Linked DNA regions of Homo sapiens: regions 1, 2 and 3 are each linked to region 4. Evidence: promoter capture Hi-C in human tissues and cell types (Jung and others, 2019). All regions are on one chromosome and are shown on one strand. Each heading gives the region's core, a stretch centred on a gene start or on the middle of the fragment in contact. The rest is flanking DNA. Distances are from core to core; before and after follow the strand shown.

Region 1 (6,618 bases), core at 2,231-4,730, 45 kb after region 4:
GCAATATATTTATTTGGGAATTAAATGGCATTAATTGGAGGGTGGAATAGTGACTACGACTTAATTAACCTGAGACTATGGGCTCTGGTTAAAAATCCACCACTACCAGGTAAGTGTGTGTTCCAGGAACAGTGTAGCTTCCACATTTAAAGGCTGTAAATTATTGATGGCAGTAGTCAGTGCTTCTGACAAGCAGTAAACTGGGAGACTGAGTGCTGGAAAGTTGGAACACATTTGATCCGTGTAGGTGGAAATGTGCAGGGTAAAAATAGAGTCGTGGCAAATGCTTTTCCAGATCCATAAGACCTCCAGGGAGCAAGATCATTTGCCAGCTCTCTCCACCTCTGCTAGTATCCATTCTCCATCTCTTCCCTTCAGACCTCCGCCCTGTGTCCACACTCTGGTCATCAGCTCTCTTCTCTGGTCAAAAGAAGTCCGGATGGGACGAAAGAAAACAGGCTGGAGAGTGAAATGGGCATCTGAGCAGAAGGTGGAGTTGAAAATTCACAAAGGGAAGCTTGCACTTCATCCTCATCTGTTCTCTTCCCTCCCTATTCAAATGGGGATTGTGTTTTTAAGGCTGATTTCTTTCCTCCTCACTGGAATTGTCTTATGTAATCCTAGCTAGTGGAGTAGCTGAACTTAATTTGATGGGATAAAAAGAAATGTGCCTTTGTGTTCTTAAAAAGAATGAATGTTTGCCATTTCTTATTTATGAATACAATAAACCAGGCTCTACTGGGGAGAGAACTAGAGGGGGGAGCAACAGATGCCCGGAAAAAAAAAGGGCATAATATTTATAACACTGTGAATGAAGCATTAAAAATGGGCAAATTAAAGCAATCCCTCAGCAGATGGGGCATATGTATTGCTAGAAACTCATGTGCACATGTTCCAGCCTCATCTATGGAACTGCACTGAATGCCAAGCTATTTGGTGATAGGGGAATTTGATTTAAAGCGTATGTTTTCTAAGAATTGTCATACGTGCCCATGTGTGAGTAAAACACAAGTGAAGAAACCCTGAAGCTTCTCACTTCTGGAAGCCTTTTAATCAGAAATTGCTCTCCTATGCCTGCCACATAGGGAGTATCATAGGAGAGGATACTATGACATTCTACTTAAAGATGTAATGTGGGTTACCCAGCAATTTCACTCCTAGATATTTACCCAGAGCAATGAAGCACCTGTCCACAAAAAGACTTCTTCGAGAATTGTGTAATTGTCAATCCCTGCCTCTCTTAAAAAAATAAAATCAACTCAAACAGACATCAATTGTAGAATGGATAAACAAATTGTATATGTTGGACTATTACTCAGCAACAAAAAGAAACAAACTGTTGATACAATGGAAAACATGATCGATGACTCTTTAAAATGTTACACTACGGCCGGGTGTGGTGGCTCACATGTGTAATCCCCGCACTTTGGGAGAGTGAGTCGGGTGGATCACCTGAGGTCAGGAGTTCGAGATCAGCCTGACCAACATGGCGAAACCCTGTCTCTACTAAAAATACAAAATTAGCTGGGCGTGGTGGCACATGCCTGTAATCTCAGCCACTCGGGAGGCTGAGGAAGGAGGATTGCTTGAAGCCAGGAGGCGGAGGTTGCACTGAGCTGAGATTGCACCATTGCAGCCCAGCCTGGGCAACAAGAGCAAAACTCTGTCTCAAAAACAAAACAAAACAAAAAACCATCATGCTGAGCAAGTGAGGCCAGACACATCAAATAAAAACAAATCTGGACTCACTGGAGAGACTTTATATAAAAGGATTATTGCAGTGGGGGTGGGAAGGGTATTGCCATAGAGAAAACATTCTATCTATAATGTGGACACTTATCTCAAAGGTTAAGGCAAGCAGCATTTTTCTATTATAGAGAGGAGTGAACAAGGCTAGGAAGAACTGAGTGAGGGAAAGTGGGGGTGAAAATGTTTTACCTGAAGCTAGTTTATTCTCTGGAGGGGTTGTCTGCAGGCTTTGGCTGAGGATAACCAAATCTTAATCTTTGTCTAACAAGTATTTTGTTCCATTTGATCAGTGGCAACAAGGAGATCAGCCAATCATTTATGAGGCAAAGAATGGGAAGTTGGAGGGTCTGGGTCTGGCCTTGTCCTAAGTAACAGAGAACATCATGAACTGTAGCTAAGTCCTGTGGGGAACGGTGTTTCCCAGAGCATGAAAGGGTGGGGGGAATTCTTTGAAACTTTGCTGTTTTTTCAGGAGCCCAGACTCAGCTAAAATTCAACCTTGTCACATTACAAAGTACATTACCATATGATTCCATGTATACGAAATACAAAAAAAAAAAAAAAAAAAAAAAAGACGAAACTAGGCTATAGTGAAAGAAAACAGACGGTGGTTGCCTGAGGCCATCCAAGGAGTAGGGACTGACTGCAGAAGGGCACAGGGAAACTACTGGGGGTGGCAGGAATGTTCAAAATCTTGATTGTGGTTGTCTTAGTCCATCAGGTGGCTGTAACAGAATGCTATATATCGAGTGGTTTGTACACAACAGAAACTTACCTCCCACAGCTCTGGAGACTGGGACTCCCAAGATCAAGATGCTGTCAGAGTCAGTGTCTGGTGAGGGCCTCATTCCAGGTTCATAGACTGCACCTATTCACTATGATCTCACCTGGTGGGAGGGACAAGGGAGCTCCCTGGAGTCTCTTTTTATAAGGGCACTAATCCCACTCAGGAGGGCTCCCCACTCATGACCTAATCACCTCCCACCTCCTAATATCATCACCTTGGGGGTTAGGATTTCAACATATACATTTGGAGAGAACACAAATATTCAAACCATAGCATTGGTGATGGTTGCATTGTATATACATGTCCCACAATTTATGGAACCATACATTTAAAATGGGTGTATTTTATTGTATGTGAACTATACCTCAATTGAATATATTTTAGCAAATGTCAAGTGGGTAGATCATAGTGGCCATGAGCTCAGGCATAGAAGCTGGGCAGGTGTGAACTTGACAAGCACAAATACATCACTTATGAGCTGTGAGAGAGATATTAGGCAATTGCTTATCCTCACTAAACATCACTTTCTCCATTAGTGCCAACCTCCTAAGACTGATTAGAGCTTTAAGGGCATGCACCTAGTAAGAACTCAATAATTTCAGCTGTTATTGCTGCTACTATCATTACGGTGTGTTTCCCTTTACATGCATCTCTTGGGCAATGTGATATAGTGGAGAGACAAGATTTCAAGGCAGAATATTTGGGCTTCAGGATCCTTCGGCTCAATGTCTTCAACTGTAAAACAGGAAAATATAATCATCACAGCTCAGCTGTGTTACAGTGTAGTTATGAAAATCAAATGTGAAAGTGGATGTGAAAATATTGATAAACTAAAGCAACCTCACAAGTGGAACAAGCTAATACATGGGATTAAGTGTAAGTTTCTTTTTTTTCTTTCTTTTTTTTTTTACTTATTCCCCTAGATTTTCTGGTCTTTTTCACAAAGATTATGGATTCTTCTTAGAATCAGGAAAAAAGTAATTTCCATTTCAGTAAAAGATGCTGTAGACCTGGAATAAGTACTTAGATATTTATTTGAAAAAATAGGTCCATAAGTAGAGGTGATGATAGAATTTATCTTCTATGGAGATGACTTTTGAAAGTGAAAGAGTATGCTATCATTAATTACACCAGTGCAAGTGTCATACACTGAAATGATCTGGGGAAATTAGAGACAATTGGTCATCTCTATATAAGGGACACTTAAGCTAATACTCATCCACAAATGCCTCTTAAAAATAAAAAAGGTACCACCTGAGGAAAGAGGGGTGTGGGAGGATGAAGAAGTTGGTGAATGGGTCCAAAAATATAGCTAGATAGAAGGAATAAGTTCTAGTATTTGATAGAAAAGTAGGGAAATTATAGTTAACAGTAATTTATTACGTATTTCAAGATAGGTGAAGAGAAGAATTGAAATGTTCCCAACACAAAGAAATGATAAATGTTTCAGGCGATGGCTGTCTCAATTACCCTGATTTGGTCCATACACATTGTATATGTGTAACAAACTATGGCATGTAGCCCCAAAATATGTGTAACTATGATGCTATCAATAAAAAATGAGATAACTGACATCACTGGATCTGAAAATTAAGAAAACATGGTCTTGCCTTTGGACCTGAGAGCTCAGAGGCACCTTTGTTAAGCAACGTCTGCTCACTTAAGGTGGAGACTTTCTAAAAGCTGGGAGCATAGTCCCATGACTGTCCCCCTGGAGAAACTCACACCTCCCAGGGGACTCCCTCCCCGTGAATAGATGAGGCTTGGGGCCCTCCTTCCATAGAAGAAGGAGGTTCTTCTATGGGAGTCAAGAAATCAAGAAGTGTGGATAATTCCATGTGTTTCTTTAGTTGTTAAAGAAATTTAAGTATTCTACTTTAGACTGTTGATTAAAGGTTATTGTTTAAAAAAACCTTAAAACTGTTTTGCATTTTGATCATCATAGTGAAGACTATTTGAACAAAGATCATCAATGGATGCCAAATCTATGGAAGAACACTTGCATAGTCTAAAAATGTCTCCCGGCCAGGCACAGTGGCAGACGCCTGTAATCCCAGCACTTTGGGAGGCCGAGGTGGGCGGATCACGAGGTCAGGGGTTCAAGACCAGCCTGATCAACATGGTGAAATCTCGCCTCTACTAAAAAAATACAAAAATTAGCCGGGCATGGTGGCGCTAATCCCAGCTACTCGGGAGGCTGAGGCAGGAGAATTGCTTGAACCCGGGAGGTGGAGGTTGCAGTGAGCTGAGATCGTGCCACTGCACTCCAGCCTGGGTGACAGAGCGAGACTCCATCTCAAAAAAAAAAAAAAAAAAAAAAAAGTCTCCCTATTGACCACTAAGTAAAAGCAAGAGTAAAAATTGTCAGTGTACAGCAGAGGTTCTATACAATTCTTTGCCCCAGAGACCAAAATGAGCATCCTCATTGAACTGCCGTGGACACTGTGGCCTCTGATGTGATGCCCTGAGAAGGACAAATCTTCTCCATGTAGATTTCCATTCAGGGAGGTGGTACCTGAATCCAAGCACAAGGAAACATCAGAGACCACTTTGAGCAATTCTTTAGAAAATGAATGGCCTATAGTCTTCGAAAATGTCAATGTCATACTACGGAGAGGCTGAGGAAATAGTCCAGATTAAAAAGCCTGGGAACACAATAAATACATGCTATTCATGATCTTAAACTGGATCTTAAACTGGAGGGAAGATTTCTACACAGAGCATTTTTTGACTATTGGCAAATTGGAATACAGTCTGTGTTTAGACAAAAGATTTGATCAATGTTAAATTTCTTGAATTGTTACCTATGGTTTTCTTTTTTTATTTTTGCTTTATTTTATTTATTTATTTTTTAGATTTCCTTTTTTTTATTATACTTTAAGTTCTGGGGTACATGTGCAGAACTTGCAGTTTTGTATAGGTATACACTTGCCATGGTGGTTTGCTGCACCCATCAACCTATCACCTACATTAGGTATTTCTCCTAATGCTATCCCTCCGCTAGGCCCCCACCCCCCGACAGACCCCGGTGTGTGATGTTCCCCTCCCTGTGTCCCTGTGTTTTCATTGTTCGACTCCCACTTATGAGTGAGAACATGCGGTGTTTGGTTTTCTGTTCTTGTGTTAGTTTGCTGAGAATGATGGTTCACAAACAAGCAATGGGGAAAGGATTCCCTATTTAATAAATGGTGTTGGGAAGACCGGCTAGCCATATGCAGAAAACTGAAACTGGACCCCTTCCTTACGCCTTATACAAAAATTAACTGAAGATGGATTAAAGACTTAAATGTAAGACCCAAAACGATAAAAATCCTAGAAGAAAACCTAGGTTTTCTTTTTAAAGAGAATATCCTTGTTCTTAGGAAATATGGCTTGAAGTATTAAAAGGTAAAGAGGCATGATGTATGAAATTTACTCTCAAAACTTTCAGAGAAAACAAATTATGTGTGTGTGCATGTGTGTGTATACACAGTCATTTACCAATAGACTTTGAAGGAGAGAGAATATGAAAAATAAATGTGGGCAAATATTAAATATTGATAAATCTGAGTAAAACCTACATGGGAATAGTTTGTATTATTTTTGCAACTTTTTTTGTAAGTTCAAAATTACTGTGAAGTAAAAAGCTTTTAAAAATTGAGGAAAGATGCTAAGTAGTGATGAGTGAATGATGACCGGAAGCTTAGAGACCTCAGGCTCTGATTAAACCCCCAGATGAGGCTGGGCACAGTGGCTCATGCCTGTAATCCCAGCACTTTGGGAGGCCGAGGCAGGGGGATCACCTGAGGTCAGAAGTTTGAGACCAGCCTGGCCAACATGGTGAAACCCCACCTCTACTAAAAATACAAAGATTAGCCTGGCATGGTGGCACGTGTCTGTATTCCCAGCTACTCAGGAGGCTGAGGCAAGAGAATCGCTTGAACCTGGGAGGTGGAGGTTGCCGTGAGCCAAGATCATGCCATTGCACTCCAGCCTGAGTGACAGAGTGAGACTCCATAAAAAAAAAAAAAAGCCCCAGATGAAAATGGTGTAGCTATGGGGATAAGCTAGGCCCAGAGATGCTCACATGTGGTTTAGGGGGA
Region 2 (6,333 bases), core at 2,784-5,283, 63 kb after region 4:
GGGAGGATCACTTGATGTTAGGAGTTTGAGACCAGCCTGGGCAACATAGCAAGACCCTGACTCTACAGGAAAAAAAAAAAAGAGTCTAGTGATTTGTCAAAGGTCCATCTGCTTATTTAGTGGTTGAGATAGGATTATTTAACCTAAGTTTAAACTCCCAGCTAATTTTTTTTCTATTTTAATTCCAAAACCAATATCCAATATGAAATCACATCATGGACATCTCAAAACAAACTTTCCTTTAGTTTTCAGGGGTAATTTCACTGGGAAACATAAATTACACGTGGAGCAGGCAGCCTTGTTTGTGAATTAATTAATTTTTTTTTTTTTTTTTTTTTTTTTTTTGAGATGGAGTCTCGCTCTGTCGCCCAGGCTGGAGTGCAGTGGCGCGATCTCGGCTCACTGCAAGCTCCGCCTCCTGGATTCACGCCATTCTCCTGCCTCAGCCTCCCCAGTAGCTGGAACTACAGGCGCCGGCCACCACGCCTGGCTAATTTTTTCGTATTTTTAGTAGAGACGGGGTTTCACCGTGTTAGCCAGGATGGTCTCGATCTCCTGACCTCATGATCTGCCCATTTTGGCCTTCCAAAATGCTGGGATTACAGGCGTGAGCCACCGTGCCCGGCCTATTTGTGAATTAATTTTGCAGTCACGGTAAGAGTCCCTGAACTTAAGCTTTGAGCTTTTGAAAACTCTGGAAATTGATTTCAAGTTTTATTGTCTTTGTTTCCAAAACGGTGGATTAGAAGCATGCTGCCCTTTCCCACCTACTCTATAATCCCTAAAAGGTTGAGAGCAGATGGGACACGATGGAAGAGGGATGCCACAAGCCAAGAGATGGCCATGCATACACGTCCATAGATGTTAGCAGCATACAGGGTCCTCCTTATCTGAGATGGAAGAAGTCGGGGCAGGCAGAGTCCAGGGGAAACCTAAGGGGTGGTTTGCTGGGGAATGACCATGGTGGTCATCAGCCAGATTCACTCCATTATGTCTCCCCTTCCTGAGACATTTGATCTCTAACAATGTTAGAGAGCGACAACAGGCTCAATAAATGGAAAATCATCTGCTTGAGGAAATGGAATTAATAGAACAATCAGGATGTATAATTAATACATCAAATAAGTAAGTTTTAAAAAATAAAGTAGACATCTTAAGAATGACTGCTAGACTGAGCCAGCAATATTTTTAACAAGCGCTGTCTGATACCTAGAAAATAAAACCAGATTCTTTTAGCTTAAGGAAAACAAAACAAAATGAAGGAAAGCAAAGCAAAATAGTTGATTTTGGGGGGTGGGAGGGGATTTTACCATCTCATTCATTTATTCATTCAACTCATATGTCGAGCACACTATTGTAGGTGCTGGAATACAGCAAAGAAATAAGAGAAATGTGGTCCCTGTTGTCATGGAGCTTAGAGCTGGAGAATGAAAGGAGAGAGTAAAAAGAGTTAATCAATGAAGCAACAGTGAAATATTGATAGTGGCATCTGTAGAGACTGAAGTAGAGAGATGCAATAGAGAAGAACTATGATGCCTACTCTAAATTGGTCAGGAAATGTAAGTGACATTTGAAGATGAAGAAGAAACCAACCATGTGAAGGTGAAAAAAGAGGAGGAACCATAACGCTGGGGCTTGGAACCTATGGGAGAAGGGAGGAAGGTTATAACATTAGGCTGGAAAGACTGATCGGGGTGAGATCATGGGGGGCTTTGTGAAATGAGAGAGCTCATTATATCATCCTCAGTAAGTTGTCATTACACCACTGTGTTTTTGACACACATCAGTGTGAAATTACTGTTGTAAAAAAGGCTAACCTGGGTGGCAATAAAACTCATCATAGGCCACAGACAATTTGAAGGAATTAATTTGCAGGATTGGTTAAGGGAAGAACACTACTAGATGAGAACAGAAGGCCCTCTTAATTTATTTAAAGAACAAATGGCAGCTTAAGGTAAAAGCAAAATATATGACCACAGTAGCAAAATTAGAAACTACTACTTATTGATAAATACTATTAAGGAAATGCAAAGGCAAACTGCAGACTCTGAGAAAGTATTAGCAACACATATACTTGACAAAGGCTTTGTACCCAGAGCACATAAAGAACTCCTACAAATCAATATGGAAAAAGCCACAATCCAATAAAAAAATGGAGCAAAATTCTTAACAGAAACTCCACAAAAGAAGATACAGGAATAGCCAATAGGAATATGAAAAGATGCTCAACAACATTAGTCACTAGGAAAATGCAAATTAAAACCACAAGATGCAATTTCACACCCTCTAGAATTAGCTAAAATTAAAAAGATTGATAACATCAAATGTTTGTGAGGATGCAGAGCAACTGCAACTCTCATACACAGCTGATGGTAGCCTAAGATGACACAACCACTTTGGAAACTGTTTGACAGCTTTTCACAAAGTTAACTATATACCTCCTCCTCCTTCTTCTTCTTCTTTGTTTTTTTTTTGTGTGTGTTTTTGTTTTGTTTTGTTTTTTGAGGCAGAGTTTCCCTCTGTCACTCAGGCTGGAGTACAGTGGCATGGTCATGGGTCACTGCAGCCTCTACCTCCCCAGGCTCAGGTGATCCTCCCATGTCAGCCTCCCAAGTAGCCGGGACTAAACACGTGCACCGCCATGCCTGGCTAATTTTTGTATTTTTTGTAGAGACTGGGTTTCGTCACGTTGCCCAGGCTGGTCTTGAACACCTGGGCTCGAGCAGTCCTCCTGCTGTGGCCTCACAAAGTGCTGGGATTACAGACATGAGCCACTGCACCTGGTCTATACACCTTCTTAATGACCTATCTATTCTATTCCAAGGTATAGCCCAAGACAAATGAAAATGAAAATATTTGTCCACAAAATGTCTTGCATAAGAATATTTATAGGAGGTTACTCATGCCAGTCAAACACTGAAAATAATCCGTGTAATCATTGAAGGGAAAATTACTAAAAATTTAATTAATAAAGGGAAAATTGTGGTATACACACAAAAGTGTTTGTCACTGATACAGGTAACAGCATAAGAGAATCCATAAAACATTGCGTTGCGTATAAAGAAGCTAGTCACAAAGAATATACACAGCATAATTTAATTGATGTGACAGGAAAGAACAGGCAACACTAACTTAGGCTGATAGAAATCAGAACAATGGTTGCTCTTGGGAGTGGGGACTCAGTAGAGGTTTCTGAGTGATGGAAAAGCTTTCCACCTTGATGATCTTAATCATGGTGGGAGTTGTGTGGGTGCATACATCTTTCAAAATTCACCAAACTATATACTTAAGATATGTGCCTTTTACTGTTTGCCAATTTTGCTCCAATTAGAAAAGTTGGGGAGGTATAGGAGGAAAGAGATTAGCAACAATGAGAATAGTTTGCTCCTTGAAGGAGTTTTACTTGGAAGGGAAAAGGGAAAAGGAATGGTAGAATGGTGACTGGAGGGGAAGGAAGGTTCAGAGTTTTGTTTGTTTGCCTGTTTCTTAGACGGGAGAGGTAATAGCATGTATGTTTGCTGATGAGAAAGATTAGCAACAGAGAGAAAAAATAAATGGTTCAGGAGAAAGTGAGCAGATGTACAAGAGGGAGGTCCTTGACTAGGGAGGAGGGAAGGGATCAGGAATGCAAGTAGGGCACTGGCCTTTGCTAGGCATTGGGAAGGGTTCCTCTGGAATAAGAGAGATGGCATTCTAAATGGGCACTGATGCAGGATTACTATCCAATCATTTAAAATGAGGCCAGTTTGCAACACTGAGTTTTCCTCCACTCTTATGCAGCCCTGCCAGTGTAGGTGGGCAATGAGCGTAGACTTGGGTTTTAATAGTGTTTTGGTTTTGCCAAGTTAGCAATACTAAGTTAGAAGGGGAGAGGGAAATTGATGAAGTTATTATCTTGATTGACCATAGACTGCAAGTTGGCTTAAGATGTTGGTAAGGACGAAACGATGGTAAGGGATAGGAAAAAGTAGAATTTGCGTGGTTGATCCTGTTGGTGCTGAAGAAGTCGGAACTGAGTTAGTGCAAGAAAGATGTTGGGAAATGTGAGGTAGTGCTGGGAAAGTGAAATGCCTGAAACCAAACAAAATAAAATGATTGAGGATGACAAGGTCTAGGAAGGAAGAGGTTGAGAGAAAGTGAAGGTAAAATCTTTGCAAGAGAGGAGGTCAGGGAATGGAGAAGACAGAATACTGGAAGATTTATCTCATGGATATTGAAACCTCGAATTGTTGATATCCTCAGTAGTGTTGATGAACATGTCAGTAAACTAGGAGCTAAATCTCCAAGGAATGAGCGGCAGTGAATGGGAGTCGGTCAAGGATGATGACCAGCAGGGCAGGAAAGTGGTGTATTCTGATGACGTGAAACTCAGTGCTGGTGTTTTGATGGAGGGAAAGAAAGTCTGCTCTGGAGGGAGAGAGGGAACACTGTGTCAAATGCTGCAGAGAGATCACACTTGCCTCCAGGCCAGGGCTGCAGAAGAGAAGACACTACCAGCAAAGCTGCAAGAAGAGTACACAGAAGAAAATGAATGATCTACATGTACTGATGTAGAAAGACGTTAGAGACATACTGTTAAATGGGGGAAAAGCAAGTTACAAAATGGTTCTGTCTGCATGAATTGTTTGGTCAGTTACAAATGAGTGGAAAATTAATGGTAAGTCTCCAAACTATAATTGCAGTCATCTCTGCATGGCAGCAATGGGGGGAACTTTTATGTCTGATTTTCCCACATTTTGCTATACCTAACAGGACAGAGTGAGTGCCCATTCTGGACCAGAGTGACTAGATTATATTCTCACACCTGCCATCTGAATGGTCATGGCCAAATTCTGAGCTTCCCTAAATCTCAGTTGTTTCATCTATAAATTAGGAATAAGTAATATCTACTTATGTTAATTGTGAGGGTGATGTAAGAAATCATGTGAAATATCACAATACGACACTTAGAAGGTAAAAGATAAAAGAACAATTGTTATCCTTACTATTGTATTTTATATAACAGGCATAGATTGCTTTTCTATTTAGAAAAAAAAAAAAAAAACCGGGATTTTTTTTTAAAGGAACTTAGTTAGAACACAGGCCCAGAGGAATGATCACCCCCAGTTCCACACACAAATAACTAGAATTAATAAAAGAACAAATGGGATGGGTGACGGTGGTGGAGAGCTGATGGATTCCTCTGAATAGTAATTGATTTGAATCTAAAACCAATGAACAGATTCTTATCACTTCACAGGGAGCCAGCGAGCCAGCTGTTTTTCAAGACGGTGTTTTATTTTGACTTTCATACACTCCTCGTGTATCTTGTCTGCAGAAAGTTATCTCTTGTGCTGTGGGAAGTAGGGGCCCTGAGCTCCTCGACCTGCTGACCCCCTCCCTGCGAAATAACCAGGTGTGTGGCAGGATTCTCAACCATGCAGAGGAGATGGGTGCTGAAGTGAGGGCCAAAATGTGGAAACTCTTTTTTTTTTTTTTTTTTTTTGAGACGGAGTCTCGCTCTGTCGCCCAGGCTGGAGTGCAGTGGCGCGATCTCGGCTCACTGCAAGCTCCGCCTCCCGGGTTCACACCATTCTCCTGCCTCAGCCTCCCGAGTAGCTGGGACTACAGGCACCCGCCACCACGCCCGGCTAATTTTTTGTATTTTTTAAGTAGAGACGGGGTTTCACCATGTTAGCCAGGATGGTCTCAATCTCCTGACCTCGTGATCCGCCCGCCTCGGCCTCCCAAAGTGCTGGGATTACAGGTGTGAGCCAGCGCGCCTGGCCAAATGTGGAAACTCTTATCCTTAGATTCCACCTGGTTGCAAGAGGGGCCAAAGAAAGGCATCTTGGCGGCTAAGCAGGAGTCGAGGTGAAATCATTGATGGAACAGACTAAGCTATACTGATATTTAGACCCAAGTTCGTTAAACAACAACAAGATGCTTGCTTTTCAGCCCCACCTTTTGACTTCCTAAAATAAGAAAAGAATCCCTTTCCATTTTCCATTTCAAACCACAGTGAGTAATGGCATCTTTGAGCGCTGGGGCCTAGAGGAAATTCTATTTGTGGGATAAATTAGGAATATTAAAGAACTCTCACCTCTGGGGTACTGAATCAAAATTTCAATTGTGTACTCAAGCTTAAAGCTTTAGACCTAGGCAAACCCCTCCCAACCCCGTCTTTGTCGTTTCCCCCTTGTGGGAAGTCTGGTCTGTGGTCGTTGTCTTTGAATCATGCAAATTAGGAGAGCATGTGTGAAGTCCTTTTATAATTTAGATTCTGTGCATGTAGCTCATTGGCCATCAGGAAGGGTATCTCAATTCAGATGGTCACTTGGGAGGGGGGCTGGA
Region 3 (6,204 bases), core at 3,309-5,808, 52 kb before region 4:
TCCTGTTCTTCCCCAGGCAGGAGTAATCCCAAACCCACCTGCTGCTCGGTCCTACACTGATTCCTTTTTCTCCTGAATCCTATTTTACACCCAGGTAATAGCTCATAATTTAGCCCTTAATTGTTCTCCAATTACCTTATCGGTGATAATTTTTCTCCAACTTGAGTTTGAGCTCCTTCATGGGAAAGACCATGGGGCTCTGTGTTCTAAGCCGATCCCACATCTTATGGCCTCCCACCATCCTCACAGCTACTAGCTTAGCTCAGGCCACCCTCCTTTCTCGCCTGGTCTACGCCAGGCAGGTCTCCCTGCTTTTCCTCTTGGGCCTCCTGTGGTCTGTTCCCTATATGGCAGCCAGAGCCATCACTGGCTTCGAAGTAGAAATAAGCTGACTTATTTCCCTGGCTTAAAACCCTTTCCAGCACACTTGTGATAAGATCTAAGCTTCAGGTGGCATGGAGTTCCTGCAGGATCTGTCCCTAGGCTCCCTCCACCCTCATTTCCCAGCCTTCTCCCCATCACTCACACTGCAGTCTTTGACTTTCTTGCCCAGTCCTTCCCCGGGGCCATTGTACTTGCCAGAAAAGCTCTCCCACTACCCCCCTGGAGTGGCTCTCTATGTCATATCATCCAGGTCATGGTTACAATGTCACCTCTTCCAAGGCCTTCCCTGACACCATATCTAGCATAGTTCCCATCTTCACTCCCTCATCACTTCCCAATGTTTTCCCTGCTTAATTTATTGTAGCTTTCGTCTTCATTGTGTATGTGGGTAGACAGTATAATCTGGGGTTAGACTCTCAGAGTTTAAATCTCAGCTCCACTACTTGAGCTGCATGACATTGGGAAAGTCCTTAACCTCCTTGTGCCTCATTTTCCTCATCTGTACAATAGGGATAATGTTATACATAGTTTATGAAACTACAGTGAGAATAAAAGGAGAGATTAATGATATGAAAACCACTTAGAAGGCTGACAGGCAGGAGGTGAGGACTACATCAATCTTTGTTTCTTTATTTACTCATTATTGCCCGACTCCCTACCCTAGACTGTCAACTCTGGTGTATTAGTCAACTCAGCCTACTGTAACAAAGTACCACAAACTGGAGGGCTTAAACAACAGGCATTTATTTTCTCAAAGTTCTGGAGGCTGGAAGTCCAAGACCAAGGTTTCAGTGGGGCTGGTTCCTTGGAGGCCTCTGTCCTTGGCTTGGGGATGGCGTCTTCTCCCTGTGTCCTTATAGGGTTGTCCCTCTGTGTGTGCCTGTGTCCTCATCTTCTCTTCTTATAAGACCACCAGTCAGCTTGGATTAAAGCCCACCCTAGTGACCTCATTTTACCTCTATCACTTCTTTAAAGGCTCTATCTCCAAATACAGTCCCATTCTGAGGTACTGGGGGTTAGGACTTCAACATACAAATTTTGAGGGCATGCAATTTAGCCCCTAACATCTGGAGAAGTAGGGTTGCGACATGGTTAGCCCTGTATCTCAGCAGGCAGACATGCATTTTTCAGCACACTTCAGTGTCTCAGTAATGACCCCTTGGAAGCCTGAGAGCATTTCCCACAGAGCTGGTCCCTCTGCCCCACAGCCATAAAACATGGAGTGACTACTGGGTGCCAAGCTGAGAAGGTACTTGAGGAATGTCCTTGAGAAGCACCAAACTGGGGAACACTCCGGGCCTTGGATTGTGTTCACTAAAATTTAAATGACTCCTTCATAGCCCAGTGGCAAGTAGGGGACCATCAGCCTCACTGAGGTGTTGATGCTGGGCCCCTGGGCAAGCTGGTGACTGGAAAGGAGAGGAGGGTGTGGGTACCCTGAGCTTCCAGTAGTGGGGCTGTAGGTCAGCACTCAGTCAAGTGGGTGGCTCAAGCCCCGCTGCAGAACACACCTCCACTCTAATCAAACAAGCCCATGTCTATCTCGTTCCTTGGCCTGCTCCTCAAGCCCCAAGTAAGGCTTAGAAGACAGCCCTTCTTGGAACCAGTTTCCAATCTTACATAAGGTGTCAGAATCGCCAGTGGTTGGAATTCTTCCATGAGAGCTGTGGAAAAGGGCTGTATTTTGCTTACAATCAGGTGAACCTCACTCTATACAACAGTTGAATCCCCCAAACATTGTGTGTGAATTTTAAGTCCAAGTCTACCTTAAATAGGCAGGGCTGGAGGGGGTCACTATTTATAGTAAATATCCAATGTGCTTTTTTTGGCAAGCAGAGAAGTCTTCTATTTTAACTTTTCTGTTTTGTAAATGTCACCTTTATACACACAGGCATGCATGCATGTATACACATTGTGGCATTCAAGTCTGTGAGGACCAAGTATCTAGCTGTGCTTTAATTCTAAAAGGCGAAGGCTTTGTTAAGTAGCTCAAACTGCAGGGGAAATTATGATCTGAGTTCAAGCTAATATATCACGAAAAAGCCTAGACACAGCATCTGTCAACTTGGGTGATCTTGCTTCTATCTGGGCAGCCACCTGGTAAATTTGTATTTTGCAACAGCAGCTGCAGAGACTGTGTTTACCCTGTGTAGATAGTCAGAGAAATATGAAGAAACTGGGGGTTCTTCCTCTTCTATTTGTGCTAGCGGTAGGCTGACTTAGTTGAACACATTCTGGCAGTTTTGTAAAAGAGTACAATGCCTTAGAATTTTGAGCTGCTAAGTCGGTCCCCTCAACAGCCAGGGGAGAGACAGGGCAGACATCTTGACTGATGTGTGACATCATTTGTTGCCAGGAGGAAAAAGCAGGACTGGCTCCAAGATGAAGCAGTCAGACCTACAGGAGAGTAGCCACAGCTACTGGTTTTCAAAAGGTAGGACAGAGACTCTTAAAAAGGCTAGGAAGATTCGGACAAGGTGAATGGAGAGAGCCAACAGCAGAGCCGTGCTCATGAAGAGCATAGACAATCATGGAGAGCATAGACACTCGACATTCACAGCAGAGAATTACTGGTGAAGATCAATGTAGTAAAACTGAGGAAAGAGGAAAAACATGTTTTATAGTCTTTTCTTTAACATTTTGCTTATTTTGTGTTATTTGATTCATTAATATTTTAGGCACAGTAATTCCTGATTTATTAGTATGTCTGCTTAAATGAGTAAAACATGGAGTAATAAAATTTTAGGTTCTTAGTTTTTGAAATTCAGAGATTGTTACGCCTGACTACTTACTGTGCCTCCACAGTAACCAACACAGTAGCCCCAATGGCTGGAAGCGAATTTGACTCTTTGCCCATATGCTATACCCTCAGCTTCTTAATATTGATGGGTATCGCACAGGTACCAACTTTGATTTATTGCAAATCTGATTTAGAGTGGGTACAGAGAGACTTGAAAGGGCTGTGTCCATTTATGACTGAATTTTTGAGAGTTTATTCTTCAGGAAGTACCTCTGGTGCCAGACATTTATATTTTTAACGATTTGGATGTATTTTGCTTTATGCACAGGGTGTGGTTGATATCTACAATCGTTTTTGTGCATCAGGAAATAAGGTTATTAAAATATTATTAAAATAGGTTTCCACAGGCACTTTGCTACATGTGACAAAATGCATAATTAGCTGGAATTAAGAGCTAATAGGTTTATAACATCAACGCCCCACTTCTAAAATAATATTTAGCTGCTACTTATGTGCACTGCTGTAACTCTTGTAAGAAAAAAAATGCTCCATGGCTCCTAAAAGTCTTATTGGCTTACATTGTCTCTTTAAGCAATTTTAAAATATAAAGGTTTTTTTTTTTTTGTTTTTTTTTTTTTTTGGTGAAGAGAGAGAAGGTGAGCTTCTGCTATATTGGCAGTTTGGAGGTTGAGTTTAAACTGCTTGAAATGATGGGACCTCAGGAAAGACCATATGAAAATATCAGCTTTTCAGGCCAATGAGTCATCCGGCATCACAAGCCGGGTTGTGGGGCTTGAGGCCGGTTTCAGTCTACGTCATCCAACAGCTGACGCTTGACAGAGACACAGGAAAGGAATATGCAATTCTCCAATTCTCTATTTTTTTTTTTTGTTTTAGGTAGATTCTCACCCTGTCACCCAGTCTAGAGTGCAATGGTGTGATCTTGGCTGACTGCAATCTCTGCCTCCTACATTCAAGTGATCCTCCCACCTCAGCCTCCCAAGTAGCTGGGACAACAAGTGTGCACCACCATGCCTGGTTAATTTTTGTATTTTTAGGAGAGAGGAGGTTTCACGTGTTGGCCAGGGTGGTCTTGAATTCCTGACCTCAGGTGAGCCACCTGCCTCAGCCTCCCAAAGAGCTAGGATTACAGGTGTGAGCCACCATGGCCGGCCAGGAATATCCAGTTCTTTAATAGTGTTTCTTTTTTAAAACATTGGCATTCAGATTAAATATCTGTATGCCATTGTTTAATACACCGCAAAAACAAGTCAGGTGAGAGATGAAACCTAGAGAGAACTAGACAACAAGTTACCCAGACTTGTAAGCTCTGTGCATGATTAGGTAGCTTCAAATACAAAGCTTTGAAGATGTGCAGGGGTTTCAGAGGTGGAGGGACTCAGGCCCTTCTGGTAGGGCCACGTGTTTGCATTGTCTTATTGGACTGTTACAGGAGCTGTCTCTTCAAAGGCACTTGCTCCTAGCAAACTTATGCCTTTCCAAAGTCTCCTCTAAAAATGAGTAGAGGACACTTTGTTTTACTTTTACTGAAGTGAAAACACCAAGGCATGCTTTAGGGGTCTCTAGCACTTCTGTGGGTACATCAGTCCCCATTCTCCCCATCTGTCTCTCTCTCTTTTTTTTTTTTTTTTTGAGACTGGGTCTTGTTGTATTGCCCAGGCTGGTCTTGAAATTTGGGGCTCAAGTGATCCTCTTGCCTTGGACTCCCAAAGTGCTGGGATTACAGGCATGAGTCACTGTGCCTGGCCCAGAAAAAGATGTTCTCTATGCCCATGAGGCTTCAAGAGAAGCTGGTTTCCTTATCTTCACTATTTAGAGCTAGATCCCAAGTACCTCCAGGATTGAGCCCTAATCCTGACCCCAAACATAATTTGTGTACAGAAACTCCGTGTAGGAGTGTTAGAAAAGCTGGAGGCCCTATTGATAGGTGATTCAGATATGCTGGGAATAATGTAAAGTGTGTGTCTGGTGGAAAGAGCTGTATTTTTAACGTGATGCTGAAATCACCAAGAAATACTCTACTTCACTTGATACGAAAAACAGAAGTTACCATTATACAGAAAAAAAGTGGAGGAGGCCTTATGCAAATATTTTCAGATAACCGTATATACTGTTTTTTTGCCAGTCGTGTCCCATCATGTCCACCCCCAGTTCTCAGCTGTCTGCATGGGCAGGAGAGGAAAGGAAAGACACTGGCTGGAGGGGGAGGCAGGGGCCTGACTCTTCTGAGCTTGAACTGTCTCATTCTGTACAATACGGATCCAGCTCCTCTTTGAGAAGCCAGTGGTAGAACAAGCAATTTTTTGAGCTCCTTATAGCTTATCTAATTAATCATTTTATGAATGGAGGAGCCAGCTTAGAAAGAACTTGTCCATGTCATACCCCTGTTAAGGGCTGAGGCACTACGTGCTCTTGCTGATGCTTTCATAAATGATAACTCAGGCACTTTCCCACTGTCTGGTTTTTATGGGGTGGTTTATAATTTGGTGACTGGGGACTTCAACACCCCACTCTCAGTCTTGGACAGATCATCTAGATAGAAGATCAACAAAGAAGTGTTGGATTTAAACTGCACTCAAGACCAAATGGTCCTAACAGACATTTACAGAACATCTCACTCAACCGTTGCAGAACACACATTTATGTGCTCATCAGCACATGAAACTCTCAGCAGTGTAGATCGTGTGTTAGACCACAAACCAAATTTCAACAAATTAAAAAAAATCATATCAGGAAACTTCTTAGACTACTAACTTAGGTGTTGCTGTGAAGATATTTTGTGGATGTGATCATAATTGGTTGACTTTAAATTAAGGGGAGGTTATCGCAGATAATCTGAGTGGGCCTGACTCAATTAGGCAAAGTTCTTTAAACGCTGGCTTGAAGCTTCCCTGAGAAAAGAAGACATTCTGTCTGTGGATGGTGGATTCAGTTCCTGCCTGAGAGCTCCTGCCTGCTGTTCTTGGTGGCCTGCCCTTCAGGCTTTAAGACTTGCTTAGTCAGCCCTCACAATTACATAACACAATGTCTTGTAATAAGCCTCTTACTGTATATCACTT
Region 4 (6,468 bases), core at 3,724-6,223:
TCAATAAGCTATAAATCCAAATTCACTGAATTTAAACATCTTAATTCCACCAAACTTAAAGTTCTAATACAATGAACTTAGAAAAACCAACCTCACTTTGAAAAGTATTGTCAGTTTAAAGCTGGTAGCAATAAGTAACTGCCTTTTCCCCTCACTTTCTTCTTTCCTCCTACTCTGCCTATTTCTGGTCCATTTCCATTTCCATATTACTTACATATCATTTGATAAAGGAAGAACTGGTGAAAAAGAGAAGAGCTTCACCTTATCTGCCTGCCTTTCCATAAAGAGCATTTATCTTGTTTTCATTAAGGTTTACATGGTCAACATTAAACCCTTGAGAACAGCAACATTTTCTACCTGTGAAAATCAGTGAATGGGGTTAAGATTCCATAAGGGTATTTTATTTTTAATCTCCAATGAATTTTTTCTATAACTTCTTAAATAACTATTCTAATTTTTTTCCCTATAAAGTAGAGGTAGACTGAGATGATAGGGAGGAATATGAGACTGAGTTAAAAGCCCTTCTATATTCTCAAGGAAAATAGTTCATGTAAGTCCTATGTATTAAATAAAGACCTGTCTCACACAAAGGAAAACATACTAATGTTTAGGCAATATCTAGATGAGGTAACTATTGTTTAGGCAATACCTAGAAGAGGTATCAAAATGATTTTTTAAAATAGCAAAATGGAACCAAGTGAATGGGGGCGAATTTTCACAAGTTGCTCTCCTTAACAAATCTTACTTGAAATGAGTAAACCAATTATTTTGGAGTATGCTATTGACTGAAAAGGGCATAGTGACACTTTGTTAATCAATTAGCCACCTAGGAAGAAAGCAAGTCATAGTTCGGTGAATAAGCACTGAATATGTGAGCATGGAAACTACCAGAAGTAAAGATTATTGACTGAACAATTTCATATACCTAGATTATTGACACCACCCCCCTTTTTAATTTATTAGAGAAATTGAACTTTAGAACTCAGAAATACATTACTTTGTTTATCTAACAGTCTATATTCTCGTATAGCTTCATCCTCATAATGAACGTCTACTTCCCTTCTGCTGATAATGTCAGATGGAACAAGGCCAAGGAACAGCTGCGTTGTTTAATACTCCACGTGTCACTTCTTCTGTCTACTTTAGGTAGCAACCTTTTCATAAACTAAATTATGGATAAACTTGTCAATACCTATCAGGAACTGAAATGTAAGAAATAGTGTAATAACTCATCCTTTTGCTTAGGTTTGAAATAGATTGCTCTGTCTTCACTAGCAATCATTTGAAAAGACTGGAAGGTAGAAACACACTGCTTTAACCACATCCTGAGTGCTCAGCATGCAATATCTTTAGAAACAACATGTCACACTTGGAAAGCCCAGCAAGGAAAACCAGGATCATATCTTGTTTACCATTAAAAATAACAAACCAGAACCAGCTCAAGACCTCATGCACAAGTGCATCCACAAAACAGGAAAGCAGCCAGGGATATTGTTGAAGCTTTATCAACATTTCCAACCAGTTGCCAAACCTTGACTGGGCTCTGCAATTCAAAGTATACCTTGTAACACCTGGATGGCACTCTGACAGGCATTCTATTTCAAATATGACTGTCACCTTCCTGTATTATTTTTCCTCTTCATATCAGTGACAGTTGTGGTGGTGGGGGACCTACTACCAAGGATGAGAGCAGGGCAAAGACCAGCTTCTCGTAAAGTGAGAGCAGAAGGGCTTGATGGACTTACCTGTTTTCCCTGTATGAATGTTGAAATGGAACTTGAATGGTAATAAATCCTCCCCTCCTGCAGTTTCTTCCTTGTTTGTATTAAGAGAAGTGACTCCTCTCGGTTTCCTACGACTGCAACCTAGGAAATGTAGCCACCTTGCTCACACGCAGGCTTGAAGATGTGATCACTGGCTCTCATCTTGCTAACAAACTCTCTCTCCTTTTCGGAAGCTCACCAGTGTTGTTTTGATTCCTTCCAGTTCTAGACCGAGAGGAAACTATATCTCCACCCTCTTCAGTCCTAGGACCCTTAGAAAGAATTTGGCTGGGCCGGATACGGTGGCTCACGCCTGTAATCCCAGCACTCTGGGAGGCTGAGGCAGGCGGATCACAACGTCATGAGTTCGAGACCAGCCTGACCAACATGGTGAAACCCCGTCTCTACTAAAAATACAAAAATTAGCCAGGTGTTGTGGTGTGCGCCTGTAATCCCAGCTACTCAGGAGGCTGAGGTAGGAGAATCGCTTGAAACCGGGACGCAGAGGTTGCAGTGAGCCGAGATCGAGCCACTGCACTCTAGCCTGGGTGACACAGCGAGACTCCGTCTAAAAAAGAAAGAAAGAAATAACAAACTTGGTTGGCTGGCCTCTCGCTGACCAGGGTGCTTCCACAGCTCCCTTCTGCCATCTATGCCCAACAAAAAGTTAAAGAGAAGAGCGTGAGAGGGCAAGGGATGCATGCTTTTGAAAGCCAAAGGGACTCAGCTGAAACTAGCAACCCTCGTCAGAGGCGGATCGGGGTGTGTGTGTGTGTGTGTGTGTGTGTGTGTGTGTGTGTGTGTCTGTGCGCGCGCGCGTCCTTTTTCTCCCCCTGAGGACAGAATCCTGTCTCCACTCTCAGTTCAGCTCAGGTCTTTCCCTGTCCCAGTGTTCTTGATTCTGAATAGGTCCTCTGATGCACCGCCATGCATAAAATGGATGATTTGCAAGCTTCTTTGCCTCACGTAATTCCGTGGGTAATTTGATATCCAGATTCTGCACGAGCCAAAGACTCATTTATTTATAGAAAGTGATTGACCTCCAGCGACCAAAGGAGTGGGTACTGCTTGCTGGGGGCTGCAGACAGGTGAGGCTTCACCCTCGGCGCCTGGGCTCTGGCCTTGGTGCTGAATCCGGAACCCGCTGAGGAACCACCACCTCGGCGGCCCCCAGGCAACTTTCGGGAGGTTTCAGGGGCACCCGGCCAGCTCTGGGCGCCCTCTCGAGCGTCGCCGTCAGGGAGTTGGGCACAACCGATGCCCTGGGACCCGCCACAGGGCACGCGGCTGGCGTATTCCTTTGCCTGGAGCCGGGAAAGTTTTGTCCAATTTTTTTCCCCTATAACTGGAGCTGCGGTCTCCCCTCCCACCTGGGTCGCCATGGAGACTCGAGCTCTTTTTCTTTCTCCAGGCAAAATGGGCGAAGCTCAGTTAGCTCAGCCCTGACTGTAGCAAGCCCTTTTTTCTCCCTAAGCAGTTCCTGGGCATCACCCTTTTCCGTTTCTTTTTTTCAGCAAAAGAAAGGCAGGCAGGGAACAGGGCTAGCAGGATGTGGCATTGCTCCCTGTACCGTAGGGCTCCCCGGGACCGACAGACTTTGGATAACAGCAGTTGGGAAACACTCTAAACATATAATACATCTCCAACTCCCAAACACTGGAGTTGTGGGGTTTTTTTTTTTTTCTCTTCCTTTTTTTGGGGGTTGGAGGCGGAATTCTTTGGAAAATTCTGGTATTTTGTTTCTCCACTAACCTCACCCTCTGTGGCTGTTTCTATTAAGATATATTTTCCCCCTGACAATCTCTCCATATTGCACCTAGTACAACAGATGTACCTGTGGATCCACTGGGCTTTTATTGGGTTTTGGGAATACTGATGTTATTTCACTTAAAAACTAATCCAAGCTTAATGTTTTGATGAAAATGAAAATATATCCACAGGGAAGCAAATATCCACAGCCACCCAGTCCTCTAAATGCCACACACATCTCATTTTATCTAAAGTGTTTTTTCTTCCCTTCCAATTACAAAATAATTCAGTTTACTCCTAGGAAGATCTTCCTATTCACTGTTTTTAGTCATGCTAGCACATCTTCGGTTTTAAGGATAGAGAACAGTTAGGAGTTACAGTATTCTGTTTCCCATTCTCCGCATGTTTCTCCCCAACCCTCACTTTTCCTCCCTTTCGTGTTGTCTCCTCTCCTCTCCATGCAAAGCAGAACAAGAAGACTGCCTTCCACAAAGACAATAGGCTTTTCCCAACTGTAAATGACTACATCACAAGCCGCACCTGTCAGTTAATCAGTGCATTTAAGTCTTTGCCAGCGGATGTTGAAATGATGTCTGCAATAACTGACTGGGTTTCTGCGAGCCCAGGGATGCAGACCCCTCCTTCCCCCGCCCCCCGTGCGAGTTTCAGTCGCTAATGAAAACCGTATGAAACAGATTCCCCTTCTGTTATGTAACCGGCTTCTCCCTCGCCTTTCGGCTGACTTGGGCACAATGTTTCTCATGAGAGTGGAGATGCCTGCGGCGACGGCGGAGCTGGGGAAGGGGACGCGGGGACCCGAGAGCACGGAACGCCTCGCCCAGGTGGACGCCAGCTCCTCGCCTGCGAGCAGCTCAGCGCACCGCTTACCTGGCTGCGGACGGGGTGGCTTCACTCAATCATGATCTCCTCTCTTGAAACGGAGCAAGACTGAACAATTCACTACACGACGGATGGCGAGGGAAGGAAATGCAAAAAAGAAAAGGAAAAGAAAAAAACTGGAATCAGATGGTCAAATTTCACATCAGCACCGAGAGGCTGTTAGGAGACTCCATTCTGCTCGCGGCTGCTCCGGCTCCAGGTCCGGCTTCCCGGCGTCCGCGGGTCTCCACCCCTCCGCCCGCCCAGCCTCTCCAGCCAGGTGCGGCCGTCTCCGGACTGGCTCCCTCTGGCCGAGCGCGGAGAGCAGGGCTGGGCGCTGGGGCCAAGGGAGGGGCGGAGGGGCGCGCGTTTGGGCAGGGACGGGGGAGGGAGACTGGGTGGAATGAAGTGGGGAAAGATAAGAGTGGCAGAAGAAAAAAAAAATCCCCGGTTAGGAGAAAAGTGGTGGACCACGCAGAGAGACGTCATGAAATCCGCAGATTCAATGAATGCTACTCAATTCCAGCCGACTGGCTGAGCCCCGCTGGCAGCGCACGAAGCGACGCGGCTCCGAGATAAAAGCGAGTGCAGCGCCGCGTGCTGGGGAAAAAGCCGCACAGCGCCGGCGCGGTCCGGGAGGAAGGGGCGGGGGCGAGCAGGACAGAGCCACAGACCCAGAGACGCCCACCCCGCCGCCCATGCCAGCTAGCGTGTCAGCGCGTCGAGGACCGGGCTTGGTGGGGGCGGGCTGGGCACAAACCAACGTGCATCCCCCGCCACTGGAAACGTGGGTGCTCCATGCTGGGGGAATCTTTTGGGTTTCGGTCCCCGACCCCCCAGTCCCAACCTTTCTCCCAGTGCCACTAAGTAAGTTATTCCCGGAGAAACGCCTGGAAAGCAGGAAAGAGCCGAAGCTCGGGGAGCAGTTTTGTCTGCTGGTTGTAGGGGTTCGGCTTTTAGGGTTTTGTGAGATAAGGAAAAAGAGGCTCTGGGCACTGCCTCCCACCGGGCTGAAATCCGTGAGAGGCAGCCCCGGCGCGGGAGCCGGAGCCTGCACCGCCCAGAGGGGGCGCAGCGAGCGGCCGGGACGGAGGGGAGGGGCCCTATCCCTGAGCTTTGCTTGCACCTGGTGGCGCCCCAGCCTGCTGCCCCATTCAGTCCCTTCTGTCCTGTCCACTGCAACTGGGACCTGGTCCCGGCTGCTGCATCATCACCCCATCCTTATATGATGTCTCTGGGGTCACTGGAGACAAAGAATGGCCTTTTCCAAGAATGACCCAGGCTGCCTTCAAAGTTGAATTTGTCAGGATAAGCCCCTTAGACAAAGGTCTACTCCACTCTTTGAATCTAACTTGCTTTGTGCTGTTATTCCAGGGGCCCCTCATAGTGCTCCCCTCTTGCACCCCCTCTTTTTCTTATGGTCATCAAAAACAATGGTTCTACATTTCCAAAGTCTTCCCATAAATTGCTTCTACCTATGAACAGAACTCTCTTTTATGCTGTCTTTTTCCTAGGGATGAATGGATTGACAAATTGTAAGAGTAGCGAATACCATTGGCTAGTAATTTTATAATGGCCCTTTCAATAACTGGCTATTCTTGTGCTGCTTTATGAAGTGGCTTTCCTTCCACAAGGCACAGAATCTCTACCTCAAAGAAGGTGACCTTATTTTAGAGAGAAGGCTTACGGAAACCTCTTATTTCCAAGATTATTTTATTCTACATACATACATTTTAATTACCTAGCAATTCAGGTCCCCTCAAGAATGCTGTCTGCCCTCTAAAAATGACTGTAATATGGAGAGGTGTTTGTGTCAATTTGCATCCAAAGTCATGTAAAAGTCAACCGTACACACGGCCTGTGAGCTTGTATTTGCTGTTGATTTTCCCTAAGAGGTTGTAATCTGACTTGCTATTACTTCTGAGTCATATATCCCATATACAGAAGATATGAGTATGTGTAATATCTGTAGTATGTGTAATACGTGCTCCACAATGCCTGCTGGATCTAGTGATAGTGTTACAAATAAACAAAGAACAACTGAACCAAATAATCCCTGAGAGACCAGGAATACAAA

The links. Contacts are between HindIII fragments. The study calls those that stand out against the background at their distance.
Region 1: a fragment that was not itself captured here is called in contact with the fragment with the promoter of KCNJ6 in region 4 in 1 of the 25 tissues and cell types used here (thymus).
Region 2: a fragment that was not itself captured here is called in contact with the fragment with the promoter of KCNJ6 in region 4 in 6 of the 25 tissues and cell types used here (H1 embryonic stem cells, aorta, dorsolateral prefrontal cortex and 3 more).
Region 3: a fragment that was not itself captured here is called in contact with the fragment with the promoter of KCNJ6 in region 4 in 6 of the 25 tissues and cell types used here (IMR-90 fibroblasts, aorta, dorsolateral prefrontal cortex and 3 more).

What each region holds. Positions count from the first base shown.
Region 1 is chr21:37,957,931-37,964,548 of GRCh38, forward strand. No RefSeq gene overlaps it. Among named protein-coding and RNA genes, the nearest start is that of KCNJ6, 45 kb to the left of the region's middle. The HindIII fragment of the contact is 5,417 bases long and covers 773-6,189 here.
Region 2 is chr21:37,975,896-37,982,228 of GRCh38, forward strand. No RefSeq gene overlaps it. Among named protein-coding and RNA genes, the nearest start is that of KCNJ6, 63 kb to the left of the region's middle. The HindIII fragment of the contact is 4,184 bases long and covers 1,942-6,125 here.
Region 3 is chr21:37,860,112-37,866,315 of GRCh38, forward strand. All of the region lies in intron 1 of KCNJ6 (potassium inwardly rectifying channel subfamily J member 6), which reads right to left. Among named protein-coding and RNA genes, the nearest start is that of KCNJ6, 53 kb to the right of the region's middle. The HindIII fragment of the contact is 4,187 bases long and covers 2,466-6,204 here.
Region 4 is chr21:37,911,484-37,917,951 of GRCh38, forward strand. KCNJ6 (potassium inwardly rectifying channel subfamily J member 6) reads right to left here and starts at 4,974. Exons shown (of 4, transcript NM_002240.5): 1 at 4,401-4,974. The HindIII fragment of the contact is 8,322 bases long and covers 3,192-6,468 here.